Linked DNA regions of Homo sapiens: regions 2 and 3 are each linked to region 1. Evidence: promoter capture Hi-C in 16 types of primary human blood cells and fetal thymus (Javierre and others, 2016). All regions are on one chromosome and are shown on one strand. The core of a region is centred on a gene start or on the middle of the fragment in contact, and the rest is flanking DNA. Distances in the headings are between cores, read along the strand shown. Region 1 holds the start of FHIP1B (FHF complex subunit HOOK interacting protein 1B). Region 2 has its middle 12 kb from the start of OR2AG2. Region 3 overlaps TRIM6 (tripartite motif containing 6).

Region 1 (3,815 bases), core at 1,316-3,815:
CCTAAACATGTTTCTATCTCTACATCATCATCCTCATGTATGTTTCATCCTCTCAGAACTACCACTCACTATATGATACAAATCAAAATCCATTATACTTAATGCACTACTATTTCAACAGAGTTTGGGATAGCAAACAATAAGCTTACCAAATCCAGTGCTTTCTCCATTATAACAAGGATTTAGACAGTCCCTAAGAACCATCTAATATTTGATTTGATTCATCCTATCACTATCATGATATGATCCACTATCAAGATGTGATCCAGGTATTATATATACCTGTTCCAATGTCACTGCGACAGCATTAAACATAACCTTCATCCCTATGTCACTCTCACAGTCCCTTTTCTGTCTTTTGGAAATAGAACAATTACAAATCATTAAAAAATCCTCCCACATCACCTTCAGTGTCTATTATAAATCTTCTTTCCCAAAGTCTCTCTCACTCTGAGACAAAATTCTGGGTTCAGCCTTGCCACTGTATCCCTGTATGATCTCTGGCTACTGAATTTAATTTCTCATCTATAAAATGAAAGTTCCTGTCTTTGTCTACAAGGTATCTATATAAATCAGTATAATAAAATTTGAAATCCCTATGTAAAGCATGAATGCTGTTCAGATGTTAAGTTATACAGAATCATTGTATAAATGTATGCTTCCTCAACCTAATACAACAGCCACACCATCATCACTTTAAATTTCTGAAGTTCATAAAGCTATAGAAATAATTTTTAAAATTAAAAATTGGGTTGACACTTTTTATTTGGGTAAATTAGATCTTTTTTTTTTTAACCCACCATCTACTGTTACCATTACTGCATCAACGAAAGAGCACTGCAACACCAAAAGAATAGGAATGATAATCTCTGAGAATAAATTTATCTTCATGAATAACCATACTGTCTTTCTCTCCCTCCATCTTGGATAGATGATAATTTTATCATGTACAGGGTCCTTGGTCCAGTGTTTAGGAACCACTACTCTAAACTCTGAACTGTAAGTTCTGACTGACTGGGCAAGTTGCCAAGTGTTCTACCAATATGGAGGCCTGTCTGGACTCCAGAAAGAAGCAATGAGAATATACCACAGGATATAGGAGTTGGCTCTGAAGCTAAGACTCTGGAAAAGAATGGGGACTGAGGCTGTCTAATTCTCAGGAAATGGTCTCTCCCTGTCCACTGTAGAGTTAAGGAAAGACTTAACTCTTTCTGAGTCTGGAAAGAATAGGATGTCCCAACCCCATGGCTGACTAGCAGTAGAGAGGAAAATTTAGTAGTGTGAAAGTGGCCATTATCACTGAATGCCAAACCAACTTTCCAGAATTTCACGTGCATTTGGGTTGGTGGGGAGAAGAGGACCTAAAAGAATGCTAGTAAGATGAACCCAACTACAGGGTGTGGAGAGGAAGAGATAAATTTTCAGGTGGCTAAAATGTTCAGTATCTTGAGACTGATGATGATTTCACAGATGTGTACACATGTCAAAACTCATCAAACACACATTTTAAATATAATATAAACTAGCTTTTTAAAAAATTCAACTGTAAGAAAGGAGAGTAAGGCCATCCTGTTTGGGATCCTAAATATAGTACTGTATAGGGCAAACCATATGACCTCCATAAAAGTAGAATTAGCAACTGAATATGGTCAATCCAATCAAAGACCCACAGTTAAGCACAGGTAAGGAGCAACAGTGGAATAAGGTTGTCCAGAAGCAAGTAGAGAGAAAACACAAGCTGTCACAGCGCAAAACCCTTCATGAGAGGGCCCATCTTCAACTATGCAGTCCAGAGAAGGAACTCGAAGGAACTGAAGTTTCTGTGATTACTCTGTTGAAGTCTGAGCCTCAAATATGACTTTCATTACCATAGTACTATTGCCTATGACACCTTCATTTTCTCGTCCTCCAGAATATGGAAAGTCCATGGGAGCAGAGGAGTCAGGTGCACAACACTTCCATCTAAGCTGCCCTACTTTGTCTAAAACTATTGCTCTCACTGGACAGGGCAGTCCATCGAAGGAGGCCTCAGAACCAACCTCTCACCTTTATCCAAGTCTCACAAGCCCTAATTCCCTCCTCCCATGCCTCGCCTTCAACTCCCTCACCAATTTGCCGCCACCCCGCAGGCTCCCACCTGCGCCTTTTACTCTCTCTCTCCTCGCGCAGGCCTTACCCCTCACTCTAGTCCCAGGGTATCCTTCACACCAGCCCTCAGTAGCCCCAGCCCTAGTAAACCGCGTTCAGGAGTCCCTTCAACTTGGCACCTCCGAAAGCACCCAGCCTCTCACAGCCCCTCATTTGTCCACTCACCTGTAAGCTCTCACCCTCCTTCCCTATCTTAGACACTCACACCCGGACCCTCACCACCTGCCAACCCCTCACAACCAGTACAGTAACCAAACCCGTCACCGTCTTTTCCCAGTCTCTCATCCCCACAAACGACTCTCCAGGCCCTCTGGCCCATGCGTACCGTTCACTCACGGAACGCCGAACCTGGCCGGGCCCGGTTGCTGCTGCGGTGTTAGGTGAGTTCAGGCCGCCGCCATCGCTTCTCAAGCGCACCAGCCGCGCCCCGCCCCGCGCCACACGCAGCCCGCGCCCCCGCGCACCACACGCAACCGCCCGGCGTCGCACGACTGGGCAATGGCGTGCCAGCTCATTGGCTGAGCCGGACCAAACCCGAGCAAGGACGCTTGTTTCCTGGCAACGGCTAAACGCAAGGGCGGGGTCGCCGACGGCTATCCGAGGGAGGAGCACCGCCTCTCCTCTTGGTTCCGTCCCTTCGTACGTAAACCCCGCCCCTCAGAAGGACTCCGGCGTGTCATAGGCGAAGGCCTCTGGGAAGGTGGAGGCCGGCAGGGCGGAGGCGGAGCCCGGGAAGGAAAGGTGGAACCAGAGGGCAGAAGGCGGGACCTAAGGAGAGGCGATTTTTACAGGCAGGGAAAGATCAGAAGGGCGGGGCTTGGGAGAGATGGAGCCGGAAGAAAGACGAGCGAGAAAGGGGTGGGGCCATGGATTCCAGGAGACGCTTGGAGTGGAAGAGTGGGTGTGGAGGGGCGAGGCTATCACGAAAAGAGAGGAGGAATCAGTAGGTGGGCCGGGCCTGCGGAAAAGTGGAGCCCTAGAGAGGGCTGACTGCGGGCACTCTAGTTCATTTTGCTCCATCGTCGTGCATAGCTTGGTCTCTACTTTAGTACCCCAGCGGTGACTGCCCCTGGCTCCCCCAACACCGCTGTGCTGTGCTGCTCCGTCACCCCTTGAGCACTTAGTCAAGGAACACGGAATAAGTGCCTGCATGCCCAGCTGGATTCCGGATCAATTAGAACCGGCCTCTGCTCTCCAGGACCTCAGAGAATTGCAGCGTAGTGTAATAAGTACATTACTACGGGGGCCACCTAGGAGCAGCACTTAGCATGATTTGCATGTATAGAGGATGAGAGGAAGGTACGGTGAAGGAGCTTAGGGAAGACTTCCGGGAGGTGACGGTGTCTAAGCCGAGTCTTGGGAAACAAGCAAGAGTAAGATAAACTAAAATAGAAAAATAGAAGTTTCAGATAAGGCATGTAGTTTTAAAAGTACTTTACCGGCTGGGCGCGGTGGCTCACGCCTGTAATCCCAGCACTTTGAGAGGCCGAGGCGGGCGGATCACGAGGTCAAGAGTTCGAGACCAGCCTGACCAACATAGTGAAACCCCGTCCCTACTACAAATACAAAAATTAACTGGGCGTAGTGGCGCGCGCCTGTAATCCCAGCTGCTTGGGAGGCTGGGGCAGGAGAATCGCTTGAACCCGGGAGGCGGAGGTTGCAGTTAG
Region 2 (3,437 bases), core at 78-2,577, 530 kb after region 1:
ATATTGAACCCACCTGGATAATCCGGGATAATTTTCTTGTCTCAAGATTGGTAATTTAATCACATCTACAAAGTCCTTTTTGCCATCTAAGGTACCATGTACAGGTTCTGGGGAGTAGGAATGTGAACATCTTTGGGGGACATTTATTTATCAATAGCATACTCAAAGAGAGACTAGCCCTCAGTGAGTCAAATGACTACAAAACACGTGGCTAATCTTTTTTTAATAACTTTTTTAAGCTAAAATATAACAGTTATACAAATACTAAAAAATGCTCAGAATGTATATGTACAGCTCAATGAATCTGGCACAAGGCATACACACTCCAGTAACCACTATTCAGGTCAAGTTACAGAGCATTACCAACACCCCAGTATTCTTTCCTTATGCCCTCTTCTAATCACTATACCTTCACTCACTCCCCAAAAGCAGTTTAACACCATACATCAGTTATGTTTCTTAGACAGGCAATTGAAATGATACAATATGTATGTTTTGTGCCTGCCTTCCTTCACTCAATATTACGTTTGTAAGATTTATCCATGTTACTATATGGAGCTATTGTGGTTCATTTTCTTTTCTTTCTTTTTTTTTGAGAGTCTCGCCTTGTCACCCAGGCTGTAGTTCCTCTCTGTTCCATTGGTCTATATATCTGTTTTGGTACCAGTACCATGCTGTTTTTGTTACTTTAGCCTTGTAGTATAGTTTATAGCATTGTAGTATAGATTGCAATGGCACGATCTCGGCTCACTGCAAGCTCTGCCTCCCAGGTTCAAATGATTCTCCTGCCTCAGTCTCCTGAGAGCTGGGATTACAGGCGTCTGCCACCACGCCCAGCTAATATTTGCATTTTTTCAGTAGAGACAGGTTTTACCATGTTGGCCAGGCTGATCTCGAGCTCCTGACTGTGTGATCTGCCTGCCTCAGCCTCCCAAAGTGCTGGAATTACAGGTGTGAGCCACTGCGCCTGGCCTCGTAGTTCATTTTCTTTGTTGTATAATGCATTGTATGACTAGATCACAGTTTATTTATCCTTTATGCTGATGAACAAACATGTGGGTTGTTTTCAGCTTTGGGGTATTTTAAACAGTGTTGCTATAAATAGTTTTGCACATGTCTTTTGGTGCACATATACACACATTTCTGTCAGGCATATACAACAAGTAGAATTGCTTGGTTATGGCATATACATATCTTCAACTTCAGTAGAGAATACCAACCAGTTAAAAAAATTTTTTTATTATACTTTAAGTTCTAGGGTACAGTGCAGAACGTGCAGTTTTGTTACATAGGTATATACATGCCATGGTGGTTTGCTGCACCCATCAACCCGTCACCTACCTTAGGTATTTCTCCTAATGCTATCCCTCCCCCAGTCCCCCACCCATGACAGGCCCCAGTGTGTGATACCTCCCTATGTCCATGTGTTCTCATTGTTCAACTCCCACTTATGAGTAAGAACATGCGGTGTTTGGTTTTCTGTTCTTAGTTTGCTGAGAATGATGGTTTCCAGCATCATCCATGTCCCTGCAAAGGACATCGTTTTCATGGCTGCATGGTATTCCATGGTGCATATGTGCCACATTTTCTTAATCCAGCCTATCACTGATGGGCATTTGGGTTGGTTTCAAGTCTTTGCTATTGTGAATAGTGCTGCAATAAACATACATGTGCACGTGTCTATACAGTAGAATAATTTATAATCCTTTGAGTATATACTCAGTAATGGGATTGCTGGGTCAAATGGTATTTCTGGTTCTAGATCTTTGAGGACTCATCACATTGTATTCCACAATCATTGAACTAATTTACACTCCCACCAACAGTGTAAAATTGTCCCTATTTCTCCACATCCTCTTCAGCATCTGTTGTTGCCTGGCTTTTTAATGATCACCATTCTAACTGGGGTGAGATGGTATCTCATTGTGGTTTTGATTTGCATTTCTCTAATGACCAGTGATGATGAGCTTTTTTTCCTACGTTTGTTGGCTGCATAAATGTCTTCTTTTGAGAAGTGTCTGTTCATATCCTTCATCCACTTTTTGATGGGGTTGTTTTTTTTCTTGTAAATTTGTTTAAGTTCTTTGTAGATTCTGTATATTAGCCCTTTGTCAGATGGATAGATTGCAAAAATTTTCTCCTATTCTGTAGGTTGCATGTTCACTCTGATGATAGTTTCTTTTGCTGTGCAGTAACTCTTTAGTTTAATTAGATCCCATTTGTCAATTTTGGCTTTTGTTGCCATTGCTTTTTGTGTTTTAGTCATGAAGTCTTTGCCCATGCCTATGTCCCGAATGGTATTGCCTAGGTTTTCTTCTAGGGTTTTTATGGTTTTAGGTCTAACATTTAAGTCTTTAATCCATCTTGAATTAATTTTTGTATAAAGTGTAAGGAAGGGGTCCAGTTTCAGTTGTCCGCATATGGCTAGTTTTCCCAACACCTTTTATTAAACAGGGAATCCTTTCCCCATTACTTGTTTTTGTCAGATTTGTCAAAGATCAGATGGTTGTAGACATGTGGTGTTATTTCTGAGGCCTCTCTGTTCCATTGGTCTAGATATCTGTTTTGGTACCAGTACCATGCTGTTTTTGTTACTTTAGCCTTGCAGTATAGTTTAAAGTCAGGTAGCATGATGCCTCCAGCTTTGTTCTTTTTGTTTAGGATTTTCTTGGCCATGCGGCCTCTTTTTTGGTTCCATATGAAATTTAAAGTAGTTTTTTCCAGTTCTGTGAACAAAGTTAATGAGAGCTTGATGGAGATAGCATTGAATCTATAAATTACTTTGGGCATGTGTGAGGAAGGTACTTGTTCTAGCACTCACCAAATTCCAGATAAGAGACACGAAGTTCTCCAGTAGTACTTTTCAATCTCTCATCAACAAACTTAAGATTAGTTCCTTCTTTCCTTATGGAGGGAGGGGTAAAAGAATACTCTGAGAGATAACTTCAAATATTCCTCTCCACCAACCTCCAACTGTCTCTCTCTTTCATACCCTAAAAAAGTTGAAGGCTTAACGCTTGTATGCCATCTCTTGATCACCTCCATGTACGTCCTCCCTAATGGTGTAGCACCTCAGTTTAGAATGTGGAGGTACATGGCAAATATTGTTTTATTTTTAGATTTCAGGTAATATTTCTATGGTATGACATTAGTATAGAGACAATAATCTAACTGAACTTTTGGGAAGTTGAGTCAAGGAGTGTAAGCTTAAAATAATGTACCATAATATTTATGAGTCTGCTCCACTAGAGCATATTATTATTCATATACTCATATTATTATGAGTTCATGATAATTATGAGTCTGCTCCACCAGACTCATCATTCAATTATTTCTTTTTCTTTTTGAACATTCTAGTAAATTTAAGAATATACTTCTGGAAATTCATTGTTATAAACTTTATTGTTTTACACTGTAGCAAATGAGGGCAATGCCCA
Region 3 (3,693 bases), core at 9-2,508, 640 kb before region 1:
TCGGAACTCATTATATCTTTATTTCTTTTTCTTTCTCACTGCAAATGACCCCACTGAGGTTAGAGACATTTTAATCAGTCAGTCAATAGAGACAGAAATGTGTGGTTAGGAGCATAGATGCCGCAGCCAGACTGCATGTGTTCAAATCCTGACTCTGACAGACACTGGCTGTGTGCCCGAAGACTGTTAACTTGACTTCTTTGAGCTTTAGTTTCTTCCATCTATAAGATGGACGGAGTAATATGTATATCTTAGAGTTTTGGTGAGGATTGAGTGAGACAGATTTAAACACGTAGGAGGCTGCCTGACACAAATTATGGTCATTATTACTGGCAAACTCCATGCCTAGCTTTAAAAAAATGCACAATCAAAACAATTTTTAAATTATAGGTTTCTGAAATGCAGGGGGTAGAAATTCTTTTGAAGTGGAAATTAAATTTTTTGTTTTGAAACTGATTATGTTCCAATTCAAATATTTATTGAGTCCTGTTAGATAATCAATTGCAGATAATAGGTTAAATATAACCCTACACAAAGATAAAAAAAAATGTTATTCCTAAAGTGCAAGAACTCATGCCCAACTCACTTATAAATGCAACTGCCACCTATTTTATTCCACTTTCACTAGGGCTCCCAGCTGGTGGACGGGCCCGCTCTGTCATTCCTAACTCTGAACCCCCAGCCTACACCAGCCCCAGTATCCCCTGCTGAGTCACTGATTTTTATTCTGAAAGCCATTTTGATATCGATGCAAGCTTCCATTCTAAAAGATGCTTCGTATCTAAATAGCAGGCCATTCTCTGTCCCCCTCCCTCTTCTAGCTGTTTTGCACCCTAAATTGTATCCACCTGGGAAAGAAGGTCCTTTATCTAAGGCAGTGCTTCTGAAGCCTTAATGTGCGTAAGAATCACCTAGAGAACTTTAATATTAAAGTGCAGATTCTGAATCATTCCAGGAAAGACTGAGATTCTGCATAAAGAACTCCAAGTGCTTGCAGTGTTGCTAGTTAGCAGACCTTTTTCAGGCGTCTGGTTCTGATTTAATTGGTCCCACCTGGTTGTGAATTTGGGCTCTTTCTTCTGCTAATTTGATGCACTGGGCTCTGGGACTGCAGGCTCTTCTCGTCTGCACTCCTCACAGTCAGAATGCCTTCTCTCAGCCCGTCCACACTGCTCTGGAGACTTGGCCTCAGTTGGAAACTGGCAGCCTCCCATATCTCCCTTGGGCTGCACTTAGCTGCAGTGGGCAGTCAGGGCTTGCTGGTGTGTGGGCAAGGGTCACCTATGCTAACTGTATGCTCCCCTCCTTCACAATTTCTTTCCCAAGCCTCAGCTTTGACAAGAGACCTCAACTCTTACAAATCTTTTTTCTGCTCAAGAATTTTTCTCTGTCTAAAGAGAGTATTAGATGAATATCTACAGCGCATATTAGATAGGAAAAAGACATATAATGAACTAGAAATAGAATGAAGCCACATATGTAATGTTACATACTCAAGTAGCCTCATTAAAAATAAGCGGGTGAAATTAATTTTAATACATTTCATTTAACCCAATACATGCAAAATACAATTAGGACATGTGATCAACATAAAAAAATTAATAAGATCCTTTAACTTTTTTAAACTAAATCTTCAAAATCCAATGTGTATTTTGTACCTAAAGCAACCCATTTCTGAGTAGCCACACTTCAAATGCTCAAGAGCCATATCTGGCTACATGTTTGACAACACAGTTCCATTATGCTTAGAAGATCAGAAACCAAGCTTTTAATTTTTCTTGTATTTTTTTGTTTCTGTCAGTTTATTGAGTTCTATCTAGTAAGTTACAAATTGTAAGCATACAGTTCTGTGAATTTTCACAGTTGCAGTCAGCTGTGTAACCACCACCATGATCATGATACATAAAGGGCATTTCCCTTTATGTATTCACCCTTCAAATTTCCTTATGCCCTTTGCAGTTCAAACTTTTCTCCCACTCCTGGGCCCTGGCTTCCACTGATGTACTTTCAAATACCATAGCTTTCTCTTTTCTAGGATTTCACATAAATAGCATCATACAATAACTTAAATTTGATGTTTGGGTTCTTTCACTTTGCATGCTTTTGAGATTTATCTTGTTGTATATATTAACAGTTTAATTGTTTGGTAATATGCCACTGTATGGATACACCACAGTTTGTTCATTTACCAGTTAGTGATGTCATGGATTCTTTTCAGTTTGGGACTATTACTACATTGCATTTATGAGGCAGTAGTTCTCCTTCAAGAGAATTGGGTACGCTAAATACAGTTTTGCCTGAAATGAAAGTGTGCATGTGTTTGTTGGGGAGGATGAATTGGAATTGGACTTTCAATTAAAATATAATACCAATACAATTATTATATTTATTTATTTATTTATTTATTTATTTATTTATTTTGAGACGGAGTCTCGCTCTGTCGCCCAGGCTGGAGTGCAGTGGCACGATCTCGACTCACTGCAAGCTCCACCTTCCGGGTTCACGCCATTCTCCTGCCTCAGCCTCCCGAGTAGCTGGGACTACAGGCATCCGCCACTACACCCAGCTAAATTTTTGTATTTTTAGTAGAGACAGGGTTTCACCGTGTTAGCCAGGATGGTCTCGATCTCCTGACCTTGTGATCCGCCTGCCTCAGCCTCCCAAAGTGCTGGGATTACAGGCTTGGGCCACCGCGCCCGGCCAACACAATTATTTTTTAACAGTAACACTTTGATAAGATAGCACATTTATTTCTATACTCTAGTGCCAACATCAAGGCCAACTATAAGCTCAGCAGTAAGCTATAATTTTCAATCCATTATAAAGTTAATTGATCATTTCCTGTGTTAGCTGCAGTGCTAAGGTCTGGGGCACCTGGAAGATAAATAGAGCCTCTATTGCCTCTAGAGCCTCTATTGCCTCTATTATCAAAGGCAATAGAGCCTTATAGTGCAGTGTGCTAAGTGAGATGATGTGGGTATGGTAGGAGATATTAACAAAGGAAATAATAGTGCAGTTCCCACAGGTGTGATTAATTTGGTTAAACAGACTCTCAGATGATAGGTAAATACGTCTGTAACACCAATTAGTACTACCAGTTAGATGCACAGAGTTCATTAATTTGTTAATTATATTTTGCACCCTTTATGGAGATGAGGAATATAAGGGAGTAATAAGAGCTCCAGCTCTGCAGCCTGCGTATCTGCATTCAACACCGGCCCCGCCACTTGAAAGATCTACTAAATACCAGTTTATACAACTATGAGATGAGATTTAAGGGACATTCATAATGTTGTTATGTGGAATTATTGAGTTATTATGTACAAAATAATTAAATTCTTGCTGAATACCTAATGGGCTTTCTGTAGATATTTGCTGTGAGCATCGCTGCTGCTAAGCATGGCAAAGCTGAAGAGCCAGGCTAGTACTTGCAGAAGCACCACAGAACACTAGATGGCAGCGCCAAGAACCTGTTTTCGGCTCGCTAGATCCCCCAGCAGGGCCGCTAGGAGGCTTATGCTTACATCCCATGACTTTTTCTTACCCTTATCTGAGACACTTTCTCAGGCCCTTTCTTCTAAGGGGAGTGTTGTTATTGGGAGGCAGTTTGATATACTTTTTAAATCCACCAGGTCCTCAAGATGGGGGTAAATTGGTACAATTTACAGGGCCTTGTGTTGAGGCCCACACGGA

The links. Contacts are between HindIII fragments. The CHiCAGO score rates a contact against its expected background, and 5 or more counts as called.
Region 2: a fragment that was not itself captured here is called in contact with the fragment with the promoter of FHIP1B in region 1 in 2 of 17 cell types (activated CD4 T cells and naive CD8 T cells); the score reaches 6.6 in activated CD4 T cells.
Region 3: a contact is called between a fragment that was not itself captured here and the fragment with the promoter of FHIP1B in region 1, in 1 of 17 cell types (neutrophils). The highest score is 5.3, in neutrophils.

What each region holds. Positions count from the first base shown.
Region 1 is chr11:6,232,071-6,235,885 of GRCh38, forward strand. FHIP1B (FHF complex subunit HOOK interacting protein 1B) reads right to left here and starts at 2,566. Exons shown (of 12, transcript NM_001098794.2): 1 at 2,474-2,566. It also overlaps a transcript of CNGA4 not described here. RefSeq lists silencers at 2,241-2,290, 2,471-2,770 and enhancers at 2,813-3,503, 2,901-2,980. The HindIII fragment of the contact is 4,704 bases long and covers 143-3,815 here.
Region 2 is chr11:6,758,756-6,762,192 of GRCh38, forward strand. No RefSeq gene overlaps it. Among named protein-coding and RNA genes, the nearest start is that of OR2AG2, 12 kb to the right of the region's middle. The HindIII fragment of the contact is 3,754 bases long and covers 1-3,204 here.
Region 3 is chr11:5,597,001-5,600,693 of GRCh38, forward strand. The region is part of intron 1 of TRIM6 (tripartite motif containing 6); the gene reads left to right. The region is part of intron 1 of TRIM6-TRIM34 (TRIM6-TRIM34 readthrough); the gene reads left to right. It also overlaps a transcript of TRIM5 not described here. Among named protein-coding and RNA genes, the nearest start is that of TRIM6-TRIM34, 2.2 kb to the left of the region's middle. RefSeq lists enhancers at 1-325, 3,359-3,653. The HindIII fragment of the contact is 1,010 bases long and covers 754-1,763 here.